2 separate regions of the Homo sapiens genome follow, and region 2 is linked to region 1. The links are contacts of gene promoters, found by promoter capture Hi-C in blood cells and fetal thymus (Javierre and others, 2016). All regions are on one chromosome and are shown on one strand. Each heading gives the region's core, a stretch centred on a gene start or on the middle of the fragment in contact. The rest is flanking DNA. Distances are from core to core; before and after follow the strand shown. Region 1 holds the start of CCDC121 (coiled-coil domain containing 121). Region 2 holds the start of TMEM214 (transmembrane protein 214).

Evidence for each region. The method cuts DNA at HindIII sites, captures the fragments that hold promoters and counts their contacts. A CHiCAGO score of 5 or more calls a contact.
Region 2: the fragment with the promoter of TMEM214 here is called in contact with the fragment with the promoter of CCDC121 in region 1 in 8 of 17 cell types (non-activated CD4 T cells, total B cells, naive B cells and 5 more); the score reaches 11.0 in non-activated CD4 T cells.

What each region holds. Positions count from the first base shown.
Region 1 is chr2:27,624,847-27,631,220 of GRCh38, forward strand. It overlaps CCDC121 (coiled-coil domain containing 121), which reads right to left and starts at 4,166. Exons shown (of 2, transcript NM_024584.5): 1 at 4,104-4,166; 2 at 792-3,071. The coding sequence starts at 2,953. The coding sequence ends at 2,117. It overlaps GPN1 (GPN-loop GTPase 1), which reads left to right and starts at 4,204. Exons shown (of 14, transcript NM_007266.4): 1 at 4,204-4,323; 2 at 5,013-5,106; 3 at 6,181-6,220. The coding sequence starts at 4,213. RefSeq lists a silencer at 3,136-3,430 and enhancers at 3,879-3,938, 3,999-4,308, 4,349-4,448. The HindIII fragment of the contact is 4,758 bases long and covers 63-4,820 here.
Region 2 is chr2:27,030,301-27,036,931 of GRCh38, forward strand. TMEM214 (transmembrane protein 214) reads left to right here and starts at 2,665. Exons shown (of 17, transcript NM_017727.5): 1 at 2,665-2,866; 2 at 3,767-3,966; 3 at 4,835-4,985; 4 at 5,294-5,428; 5 at 5,670-5,752; 6 at 6,187-6,292; 7 at 6,405-6,486. The coding sequence starts at 2,716. RefSeq lists an enhancer at 2,288-2,577. The HindIII fragment of the contact is 3,121 bases long and covers 320-3,440 here.

The DNA.
Region 1 (6,374 bases), core at 2,916-5,415:
GTTCTGTGACCATTCCTCAACTATACTTTACATACACACCTTTCTGTTCCTTGAACCTACCAAGCTTATTGCCATCTTAAGGCATTTGCATTCACTGTTGCCTCTGCCTAGAATAGTTTCTTCCCCAGTTTTTGCATTGTAGGCTTCATTTTAGCAATCATAGGTCTTAAATTTCACCTCAGAGGTCTTTTCCATCTAAACTCACTTTCTGTAACATAACCCTGTGTAATTTTCTAAATAGCAAAGCAGACAAAATGCAGATTGAAATCTTAGTTGGCCAACTTGCTGCTTACTTAGAGGTATGGATTTCAAGGTATGAAATCAGTTATCATTCAACTTTTAATGTCTTCAAGCCCTCACTCTGGAAGGGACAGCCACAAGCAGTATACCATATCCATTACCTGGGATGATAAGTAAAAATGAACTGAGATCAGGTGGAAGTTACCCACTCTTGAATTAGATAATTGGGACACCAGTGGCAGGAGGGGAATTAACAGAACTAATATGCTTCCTACTTTCCAACTTTTTATCAGCCTTAGAAATACATTGTCTTAGGGTTTTTACGTCCACAGAGACTAAGCCTTCAAGTTTGTCTTGGATACCATGCTTTCCTTGTTCAGTGTTTCTGTATTTTCAGCTCACAAATTGAGATTTAGGTTAAAGTACCTGTATGCTAAAATCCTAATTTCTGCATTAAAACTAGTTTTTATTATTTGCACATGTGAATAAGACATTTAAGAGTGGTAACAGAAGAGTGATGAAGTAGAAAATGTGTTACATTGGAACAGTAATAAAATCAGTGGATAAATGTTTTTATTTAATAACATTGTTTAATAAAAAACTACATATTTAACAGAAAAGTTGTTAAAGCTACAAGGTAAAGGCACATTGAAGGAGAATGCTTTTTAAATCCAATTTTCAGGGAATTCACTTTACATGTAAATAAAGCAGAAAATGCAGGAAAATTATTTTGAAGTTTTTCATCACTTAACAATTTCTGGGAAACAAAGTTCATCCTATTTTCCCATAGAGGACCCCTGTTAAAATATAAGATTATATTCCCCTATACTAGGATTCAGCATTCAAATAAATCACTAGTCCAACTTCAATGTCGTAGAACCCAAAAAAAATATAACTATCCTAAAAATATATAATTTAAAATATAATTTATAGTTATACTAAATGGGAATAAACATATGGCACACATTAATTACAAAGGATACTTCATGTACTAGAAAGTGCACCTGTAAGAAAATTAATAAATGACCTAAAACTAAAGCATTTAGGATAACAAACATCATTTTACTTGCTATCTTTTAGAATGCTGCTAGGGAAATCGATGGCACTTAAAAAAAAAGTTGTCCAAATATTTCAACTTTTTTTGGATACGTTTTCCTGAAATAAGTGGAGGCATTCAGTCACCTCAATGCTACAGGTGTTTCTTCAAATAAAACATTTTCAAAAGTAAGAGCTGACCTAATATATGTCTCCTTCATCTTTTCTTACCTTCTCAAACTTGTAGGGGCTTAGCATCAGATGAAAGGTCACTCTGCCTAGCACTTACTGGACTTGCTGTTATCAGAATGCTTTTTCACTCATGAGAAAACTAGAAGGAGCTACCTGGTCACTGGCACAAACTCACAAAGAGCTTGTAAAAACTGCTTTTGTCTGCTAAGTTGGTCAAAAGGAATGAGGATAAACTGGCAGAACGCTATTCAAAGTCTATTTGGAATGCTATCCTTAAAGGTACTTTCTCTATAAAGAAATACAATTTAGCTAGATGAAATAAATCACAACTGTTTTCACTTCCTTAGGTTGGTTTCCTTTAGCTAGTTTGATGTATGGTAAATGGCTAGGTTAGGGTCATGTGTTAGGTTAACTGGAGGTTTGTGGAATAGCTTATTAACGAGTATTTAAAGAAAAAGCTAGTTAAGGGAAGCTGGTTACCAAATATCTAGTAGGACTGTTGGATAAAACCATCTAATCCTTCACTCCAACACATCATGATGGAGATTTTACAATAGCAATCTGGAATCCAACAGCCTTTCTAACCAGGTTAATGTAGCACTTAAGAGTACTTGCTCCAGTTCTTATTTAATCAGTGTTATTTTAGAAGTTACTTTGGATTAATCCTTGATTTGGTGCCTTGGGGAAGACTGGGTGTGGTCTTTGGAACATCCTGTCTATTTAGGCACTGATTATGACTTCCTTGCAGTCTCTGCCTCGCCTGGATTAAGGACTCCAGATACCACTGTTCCTGCTGCAGCTGCTGCTTCCTGTTTTCTAAGTGGCTTTGAGTAGCCGTTAGTTTCTGGGCTTGCTCAATTAGCTGCAGTAATTCCTTCTTGAACTGCTGGTTCTCTCTGTTGATGCCACAGGAGTATTCAAAAATAAACCGCTTTGCTGCCAACTTCAAGGCCTGGGCCTTCATATTAAGCTCTCTTCTTTTTCTCTTTCCCAGTAGCCTCCTGTCTGGCTCGCTCAGTTGTTTCTCCAGTAATCTTTTCTCCTGGAGGAGCTGGGCCTGTACTTCCCGTGTCTTTGAAGCTGTCTCAGCTTGGACTTTCTTTGTCTCCTCCTGTAATGTCTGTATTTCTTTCTCCTGCTTTTCCTTTAATATAGCAATGTCCCTCATTGCCTGCAACTTCCGCTTCAAACTGGATTGGATATTTTCCTTTTGCAAGAGCGCTGTTTTAAGCACTGAAATTTGTTCTGCATATCTGGAGGCTGATTCTTGTCTTCTTCGTTCAATCTCTCCACTTTTTTGTAAATAGCTGTTCCATACCTTCTCAGGTTGCTCTGTGTACTCTTCAGTTTTGTTAGTCAGGTATTCCAGAAAGAATCTGTTTTCAGCCTGGACAAGTAACTTTTCTCGGTGTAGCTCCCTGGATTCCTCCAGTAGCTGTTTCCGCTGGGTTTGAGCTTGTTTTATATGCTTGTTCAGATCCGTCATTTCCGCCACTATCTTTTCTTTAAGCCTTGTCTCTACCTTTGTTAGCTTCTCTGGCTTGACAAAATTATTTATTAGACTATGATACGGTGGAAGGAGCCTTCTGGGGCCCTCAGCAAACCTGAAAGAACAAACGAGACATTCCTCTGTCAGTTAATGAAACTTTAGGAAGTAAGTGCACAACTGTCCTTCATTCATACAAGAGAATATTTCTGAGCACCAGAATGTTCCAGACATTATGCAAGGTGTGGGGAATCCAGCTAGTGGTAAAGGATGAGGAATGTAGCTCGTCATTTACAACGTGCATTCACTACAACCCTGGGAGGTATTACCTCAGTTTTAAAAAAGGAGAAAACAGGTTCAGAGAGTTTAAGTGACTTGCCCATGACTCACACCACTAGCAAGTGGCAGAGCCTGGGTATTAAAGCCAGATCTTATGACTTACTGAACACTGTTTGCAGCTACAAAGGGTCACAGAAACAGACTGGGTGGTCAGGAGTAGAAATAATTTTCTAGGCTCTTTCATCATCTTTCCTGAGTTTCTGAGGGACCTTCAGTGACTGGAGGGGAGGAAGCTCCCCTCCAGTACCTACTTGCACCTGGAATCCAAGCATTCATCCTGAAGGTCACGGCAACTGTGTAGTTCACTGAGGGTGACTGCCAAGGAATGAGCGCTAGCATCAGGAACCTGCGTCTGCAACTCGCGGGAACAATGTGCAAGTGTGGAAAGCTCCCGTAGTTTATTCGTTCGGTGCTCAAAGGGTCTCGGTGCTGCCCAGCAACCCTGGAGACTGCACCCTGCTCCAGTCCCGGCTGGTCCAGCCCTGAACTGTTTAACCGCCTCGGCTACCGAATAAGCCCGAGCAGCCGGTCCTCCAGTGGCTCCGCTCCCCGTTCTCTGTGGGCTCAAAATGACAGGCATGCTCCTCGTTTTCTTGCTGTGTGAGCCCTGCCCTCGGGACCCCATCTCTTCTGGCCTTCCTCCGGGAGACAAAAGCCCTCCCAGGCTGCAGAGATCAGCGCCCTTTTCCTAGCTCCCTTCAGCCTTCCTCTCGCTTGCTCAGCGCCCCCACTTCCTCGCCACTGTCACTAGTTGACTCATCAGCCCTGCCCGACGCTAAGAAGATGCCCTGGCAACCGCCGCGCCCCTCACCCGCTCCTTTCTGACGCTGTGGTGGTTTTCGTTCGCAGCCCAGAACATTGCGGAAGTTTCTCTACCCATGCGGTGTCTCTATGGTCGGGTGGGTGGGGCCAGGAGGAAGATGGCGGCGTCCGCAGCTGCCGCTGAGCTCCAGGCTTCTGGGGGTCCGCGGCACCCAGTGTGTCTGTTGGTGTTGGGAATGGCGGGATCCGGGAAAACCACTTTTGTACAGGTGACGTACACAGCATGGGTGTAGTAGGGGAGCGCAAAAGGTTGCCTCCGGCAGGCGGAAGGCCAGGAAGAAAGGGAGGGAAGAGGATTTGGAGGGTACCGGCGCATGGCTTTCGGGGGCTTCCCATCAACTTTAGTTCCTTCCCCGGCAAAGCCTCCTCGGGCCCTAGCCAGGTTAATTAAGGCTCTCTTCTGCGCACCTTCAGGGCATACTCGGTCCAGCTTACCACGTTGTACAGGAATTGTCTTGCTGATAAAATTGCGTTTCTCGGAGGCAAGTTACAAGTAACTTTAAAGATTAATACAGTGCTAGCACACAGGTTTTGGTGAAGATTTGCCAAATATTTCTTGCACGCCTGTCATGTTCCATTCACTGGGGATATAGCGAAAATGAGGTTGACAAGATTCATTCGTGGGGCCAAATATTTAATGGAGGAGATAGAGAAAACCCACATACGAAGAATCAAAACAAGTAAACAAGTGACTACGAGTAGGGGAAGCTTTGTTAGATGGGTGATGAAGAAAGGTAGCATTTGAACTGAGAGTTGTATCTTGGAGGTGGACATGGTGGATATTTCAGGTAGAAGAAAATCTAAGTGCAATATTCTTAAGGCATGGGTGTTAAAGGAATGGAAGTTCTCTCTTGTCCCCTCTTTGTCTCCTTCCAACCCTCTCCCCATATCTCTGCAGAGGCTCACAGGACACCTGCATGCCCAAGGCACTCCACCGTATGTGATCAACCTGGATCCAGCAGTACATGAAGTTCCCTTTCCTGCCAATATTGGTGAGTAAACCAGTAACATAACTTGTGTGCAGTGCTTTAAAGAGAATGGAAAAGGCCAGGCGTGGTGGCTCACGGCTGTAATCTCAGCACTTTGGGAGGCCGAGGCAGGTAGATCACGAGGTCAGGAGTTCAAGACCAGCCTGGCCAAGATGGTGAAACTCCATCTCTACTAAAAATACAAAAAATTAGCCAGGCACGGTGGCAGGCACCTGTAATTCCAGCTACTCGGGAGGCTGAGGCAGGAGAGTTGCTTGAACCCGGGTGGCAGAGGTTGCAGTGAGCCAAGATCGTGCCACTGCACTCCAGCCTGGTCAATAGAGTGAGACTCTGTAAAGCCTCCAGCCTGCCAGTCTTCAGTGCCTTCTTTTTTCATGTTTTCTAAACTATCTACTTTCATTTCCTTTGGATTTGCTTGCATTCCTAAACAGCTTAGGTTTTTTTTTTTTTTTTTTTTTTTTTAGACAGAGTCTCTGTCACCCAGGCCAGAGTGCAGTGGCGTGATTCACAGGTCACTGCAGCCTCAACATCCCAGGCTCAAGTGATCCTCCCACCTCAGCCTCCTGCCGCTATGCTGGGCTAGTTTTGTTTTGTTTGGAGAGACAAGGCCTCTCTATGTTGCCCAGGCTGGTCTTGAACTCCTGGGCTCAAGTAATCCTCCTGCCTTGGCCTCCCAAAGTGCTGGGATTATAGGTGTGAGCCACTGTGCCCAGCCTAACTCCTTTTAAAAAATCATGTCTGCATTGCCATTGTGTTGCCTTTGTCAGTAATAGGCAATTAGTAAGAAGCATTTTTTCCCCCTTGATTTTTGCCTCCCTTTTTCTAGGCATGTTTAAGTTGCATGAAACTTTGCACTTTGTGGAGACAAAACTCTTTGCCACAACTTTAGAGCTCCTAGCCCTAACATTCTTCATGATTTACTTGGCATTTATTCTTTGTAAGGAAGGAAACCAGTGTGAAAGTGGAGGTGGTAGAAGAGAATGCTGACAGGAGAAGGCTAGAAGGCCAGTTTTACTTTCCTGGTGGTAGGGAATGTGTATGTATTACATTCCAGTTAATTCTTTTTTTTCTCCTCAGATATTCGTGATACTGTAAAGTATAAAGAAGTAATGAAACAGTATCCTTTTCCATCTACTTTGGTCTTGACTCATTCCTGGCTTCTTGTCTGTGTATTTTGTGGCTTGAAAGAGTGTTTTTGCCTTTTCCTTGTGAAATATACAAGCAAAAGGATGGAAGCTGATTGTGGGAGAGGTAGGTGATCAGAAATACTA
Region 2 (6,631 bases), core at 1,415-3,914, 600 kb before region 1:
CAAGATATGCTCATCTCCCACCCCCTGCCTTCCCCTACCAACACTTCACACAGCCACATTTACCCTTCCAAAAGAGTGGATTATGCCACCCTCTCACTGGTCTCCCAGGGCCTGAAGGATAAAGTCCAGATTTGGCAGGCAAGTTCCTTGGCATATGGGCTCAGATCCCTTTCCAAACTCATAAGAGGCTATTGTTGCATTGCTATAAAGAAACATCTAGACTGGGTAATTTATAAGAAAAGAAGTTTAATTGGCTCACAGTTCTGCAGACTGTATAGGAAGCATAATGCTGACATCTGCTTCTAGGGAAGCCTCAGGAAGCTTACAATCATGGCGGAAGGCAAAGGGGGAGCAGGCACATCACATGGTAAAAGCAGGAGCGAGCAAGCGAGCGAGAGAGAGAGGTGGTGGGGAGGTGCCACACACTTTTAAATGACCAGATCTCATGAGAACTGGGATCCACCATGAGGGATCCACCACCATGATCCAAACACTTCCCACCAGGCCCAACTGCCAGCGCTGGGGATTACAATTCAACATGAGACTTGGGCAGGGACAAAAATCCAAACTATATCAAACCTCATCACCTCCAAAGTCCCATCAAGCACTGTCCCATTGAACTGCTTCCAGTTTACCACCCTCTAGGCCTTTGTTTTACATCAACAGATCCACACAACTGGCATTTTCTCTCCACCCACCCTAACCCTCAGCCAGTGAACATTCAATTTTGTTTTTTGTTGTTGTTGTTGTTTTGGGTTTTTTGAGACGGAGTTTAGCTCTTGTTGCCCAGGTTGGAGTGCAGTGGCACAATCTCGGCTCACTGCAACCTCCGCCTCCAAGGTTCAAGCGATTCTCCTGCCTCAGCCTCCCAAGTAGCTGAGATTATAGGCCTGCGCCATCATACCTGGCTACTTTTTTGTATTTAGTAGAGATGGGGTTTCACCATGTTGGCCTGACTGGTTTCGAACTCCTGACCTCAGGTGATACCCACCTCGGCCTCCCGAAGTGCTGGGATTACAGGCGTGAGCCACGGCGCCCGGGGAACCAATGAAAATGCTATTTCTCAGAACCTATCTCAGCTGCCGTCTCCTTCGGGAAGCTAAACTCCTTCCTAAGGAATGCATCGCTCCCTCAGCTGTTCATCCTGTAGGAATTTGGACTCTCTTAGTTCTTATCATAATACCTCAGTATGGCAGGTAGGAATCTCATCCTCACACACAGTTGTACATGAAATAGCACATTTCCTTAATTGTGATAAGTCACTTTGATTTTATCTTCCCTCATTCTCCTCTGCTGGCATGCTTCAAGGTTCTGAAGGCTCCCAGGATACTAACACCCTCCACGTGGATGTCTGAGCAGGAACCTGTCTGCAGATGCCTCAAGTCTGGGGCTCTCCATCGCTTCCCTGACACATCTGGAACTTGGGATTGACTCTTATGGTGGGAGGCAGAGCCTGTTCTTTCTCATTGCCTGGAAGGGGAAACCCGGCCCTGGCTGTCCCAGACCCCCAGACTTTTCTCAGCCTCCCATGAGAAGAACTCAGAGGCCAGGAGCGGTGGCTCACTCCTGTAATCCCAGCACTTTGGGAGGCTGAAGAGGGTGGATCACTGAGCCCAGGAGTTTGAGATCAGCCTGGGCAACACAGCAAAACCCAGTCTCTACAAAAAATACCAAAGATTAGCCGGGGGTGGTGGTGGGTCAGGTGATCCGTGGTGGGGGATCACCTGAGCCCTAGAAGTTGAGGCTGCAGTGAGTCGTGATCGCGCCACTGAACTCCAGCCTGGGCGACAAAGCAAGATCCTGTCTCAAAAAAAAAAAAAAAAATTATTCTCCATTCTCCACCTCCTACCCCAGCTCCCCAACACTCTGCCCTTTCCTCAAGCCCCCATCCTCTTCCTTGTTCTTTGGCAATAGATTTGTATAGCCCATTAAACCCGAGGTTTAATCACTAGCAACAGTAAAGCCAGCACTTTCCTAGAAGGAAGGAAGCATTTAATCTTCAATCTCTCCCTAGATATGAGGAGCACTACTTCCCTTCCATCCTTCCAGCTCTACGAGAAAGGAAAGAAAAACAGTGGCCGGGCGCCGTGGCTCACGCCTGTAATCCCAGCACTTTGGGAGGCTGAGGGGTGGGGGTGGGGTGGGTCACTTTAGGTCAGGAGTTCGAGACCAGCCTAGCCAACATGGCGAAACCCCGTCTCTACTAAAAATACAAAAATTAGCTGGGCTTGGCAGCGGGAGCCTGTAGTCCCTGCTACTCGGGACGCTGAGGCACGAGAGTCGCTTGAACCTGGGTGGCGGAAGTTACAGTGAGCTGAGATCGCGCTACTGCACTCCAGTCTGGGCGACAGAGCGCGGCCCTGGCAATCAATCAATCAATTGATCAATAAAGGAAAGAAAAACAGAAACAGTTCTACCAAGTCTCTCAATGCCGTGGCCTTCACATCGACGCTCAATGAACGTTCTCAGAAGGGAATCTCCTCTCCTCCCGGCCTCTTCGCCTGGGCGGGGGCCGCAGGCTGCCGCGGAAGCCTCTTCCCGATGCTCTTCGCTCAGGAGAGCCCGGCCCAGGAGAGGGACTACAAGTCCCAGGCTGCCTTGCGGCGGGCGCCGGGCGCCGGGCGCGCGGTCCTGCGAGGAGACGTGGCAGAGTGCGGCGCGCTCGCGCCGGACCGGAAAGCCGGGGAAGTGGCCGAGGAGGGAGGGCTGCGAGCCATGGCGACCAAGACGGCGGGCGTGGGGCGGTGGGAGGTAGTGAAGAAGGGTCGGCGGCCTGGGGTCGGCGCCGGCGCCGGCGGCCGAGGAGGCGGCAGGAACCGCAGGGCGCTCGGGGAAGCAAACGGAGTGTGGAAATACGACCTGACCCGTGAGTACCCGCCCTGCCCCGCCGCCTACCCCAGGCCTGTCCGGCAGGGTCGCAGCGAGCGGCTCCCAGAACCTGGGCGCGAGCTCGCAGGCACATCCCCGAGCGCCACGCTTGCGTTGTCTCTTTGGAGCCTCACGGGAGGCAGACAGCTCCAGGGAAGGTTGCGGTCCTCACCTCCCAGATGAGTAAACTGAGGCCCAGTGAAGTTGGATACCTTGGCCAGGGTCATGTGTCAGAGGGGCTAGGATTCCGGTCCTCAGACTCTCAGTTCACTGCACACACTCTCCCAGCTGCCCAGGGCCCTAGCTGGTCTCTCTGGGCAGGTGTCTGAGCTTTGAAGAGGTACTGTGGATCATTATACACGGTGCCCCCTCTTTAAGTAACCAGCAGGTCATGGAGGAAGGGACAGGAGGCCCAGCAGTGGGAGAAATGACCGCCACACACTCAACACTCACCAGGAATTATAAGTGACACCTGGTTCTTCCACTGAGGAGTGGAGAAAGATTGCCACTTGTTGATTATAGAGTTGTCATGTCGGAACCAAGAGGCGTTAGGGTAGGACCAAGATGGAAAAAGCTTGTCTTCCCAGACTAGTAGCCACTCACTGAATAAGGCAAACCTCTATATCCAACCTCTCTGCTTGTTCCTACATACTCTGATTTGTCTAATGAAGAACTGCCCCATCTTTATGAAAGAGCCCATAGACTCAAGAGCTGTAATGAAAGAAGCTACCAGGAGAACAGCCTGCCCTGCTCCTTAAGCAGTCCAAGAGGAAGGGGCTTTGAGACAGGCTCTTCCCTGGAGATGAATTAGGTGGCAGTGTGGGGAAAGGGACCACTGATAGGTGAGGCCTTGGGGACTCAAGGGTGGCCTGCCTTTCTCTACCTATCTTCACCCCAGCTGCAATCCAGACCACAAGCACCCTTTATGAGCGGGGCTTTGAGAATATCATGAAGCGGCAGAATAAGGAGCAGGTCCCACCCCCTGCTGTGGAACCTAAGAAACCAGGGAACAAGAAGCAGCCAAAGAAGGTGGCAACTCCTCCCAACCAAAACCAGAAGCAGGGCCGCTTCCGCAGCCTGGAGGAAGCACTGAAAGCTGTGAGTGTGCCTAGACATGAGACGCAGAAAGAATGGGGGCTTGAGATTTAGAGAAGATGAGAGGAGGGGGAGGTGGATGGGCAGCTGAGATCCTATGGGATTTGAAACACTTTAAGGGTTGAGAGGAGTTCAGGAAAAGATGGAAACCCCAGGGGAACAGAATGCCTGCACTTAGAATAGAAAGGAAATGGAAAATTTATAGGGAAACATGGATTGGTAAGAGGAAAGCCTTGAAGACCCAGGAACACCAGGGAGGAGATGGAGAAACTGGTTATGATTCTCTGTCCTATGGAAATACTGATCTTTCATTTTCTGTCTTGTCCTCTGTTTTCCTCTTTTTTTTTTTTTTTTTTTGAGTTAGAGTCTCCCTCTGTCGCCCAGGCTGGTGTGCAGTGGTGTGATCTCAGCTCACTGCAACCTCTGTCTCCTGCCTCAGCCTCCCAAGCAGCTGGGATTACAGGCGTCTGCCACCACGCCTGGCTAATTTTTGTATTTTTAGTAGAGATGGGGTTTCACTACGTTGGCCAGGCTGGTCTTGAACTCCTGACCTCAGGTGATCCGCCCACCTTGGCCTCCCAAAGTGCTGGGATTACAGGCGTGAGCCACCGCGCCTGGCCCTCTGTTTTCCTCTTGAACATGTGGAGGGCCTGAGAGGATAGGGCCTGAGATCAGCATTTTCAGCTGTCCTGTTCCATTCTTAAAGATGTAGGTACAGCAGAATTGCAGCATTCCATGTTCTTATGCTTAAAAATGGAATCCCTTCTTCCTACTGCCACCTAGTTCAACCATTTTCCCACCCCTACCCCATTTCTTTACTCCCTCACTCACAACTCGCCATGGTGGGGGGTTGGGGGATTGTCCCTGGCAGCTGGATGTGGCAGACCTGCAGAAGGAACTGGACAAGAGCCAGAGTGTGTTCTCTGGAAACCCATCCATATGGTTGAAGGACCTGGCCAGCTATCTCAACTACAAGCTACAAGCTCCTCTAAGTGAACCCACGCTGAGCCAGCATACTCATGGTAAGTCCTTCCAGCTTCCTCAAGCTCAGACAAGTTCAAATAAATTCAAAAAGGGTGGTATAACAGATCCCAGTGCCCCACACTGTCCTGATTTCCATGGGTGATTTGGGCTGGTCTCAAATCATCGTGACTGTGAATGTTTCTGGGCCTCATTCTGTGATCCTCCCTCTGGGCCTCCTCAGAGGAAGGATCCCAGCCTCAGTGCAGGGGCCTTTGCCTCCACTCACCATTCCCAGGGAGAGCACCACAGTTCTCAGAGCTGATGGGTGTCTGGTCCTAGCACTCACATTGAGGCCTATGGGCCTTAGATTATCCCTACAGCCTGGTGAGCCGGGAGCTACGTGGGATCATCCGAGGGCTGCTGGCGAAGGCAGCAGGGTCTCTGGAGCTCTTTTTTGACCACTGTCTGTTCACCATGTTGCAAGAGCTGGATAAGACACCAGGTGAAAGGGGCACGGGAGGGATGACCATCTTGGGAGCCTCCTCCTTTTTTTCCTGCTTCCAGTACCACTCAGTGGTTCTGTTTCCAGCAGAGAAATGTGCTAACCTTAACACTTTTTGGAAAGTGTGGAGGAAGTTAGGAGTCAGTGGACCTGGGGCCTGGGCTCACCGCTGACAAATGGGAGATTTCAGGTTTGGGATGCCAAATAATGTGAGTAGGTGTGAGAATGTGTATCTCTCCAGGGGAGTCACTACATGGTTACCGCATCTGTATCCAGGCCATCCTGCAAGACAAGCCCAAGATTGCCACGGCAAACCTAGGCAAGGTGAGCTCTCAGTGATGGTGGGGATGCTAGGAAGCTAGGACTGGGGAGGCTGGGCAGAATCTATGTTGTTGGACTCAGGTTTGGGATAGTGGAAGACCTGTAAGCCTAGTAATAATGGGTAACACTATTAGCACCTATCCTGTGTGTGTGCTCTGGAAACATAGGAGCAAGGTACTGCTATTATTTCCCATTTTTATAGATGAAAAGATTGAGCCACAGAGGAGTTCAGTAACTTTCCTAGGCTCAGTCATCCAGTAAATGGCAGAGTATGGGCGAAGCCCACAAACAGAACCTGCACCACGTGGCCATAGTGCTCCACTCTTGCTCGGCCTGTCCTCCCTCTTCCAGTTGACATCTCCCTTCCCTCCTGGCTTTGGGGGGTGCTCCTGGTGTTTTGTCCTATCCCAATCTGCCTTCCCCACCGGTCTCCTCAGTTCCTGGAACTGCTGAGGTCCCACCAGAGCCGACCAGCAAAGTGTCTCACCATCATGTGGGCCCTGGGTCAAGCAGGTTTTGCCAACCTCACCGAGGGACTGAAAGGTAACAGGGAAATAGGGAAGAAAGAGGGAGGGTCTCGGAGCTGGAAAACTCCTCTTTGATGCCCCCAGTAGGTGCAAGCCTGAGGCCTCCCTCGTGACTTTTACCCCTGCAGTGTGGCTGGGGATCATGCTGCCTGTGCTGGGCATCAAGTCTCTGTCTCCCTTTGCCATCACATACCTGGATCGGCTGCTCCTGTGAGTAATGGGAGGGCAGCAAGGGGAAGGCTCAGGGTGTCCCAAGTGGCTGTTATAGCAAAATGGGAGGCTATGATCTTGGTCTCCATGGATATGAGGAAAATCAGGACCAGCTTCTCCCACCACCTTAGAATGTGATGGTGAG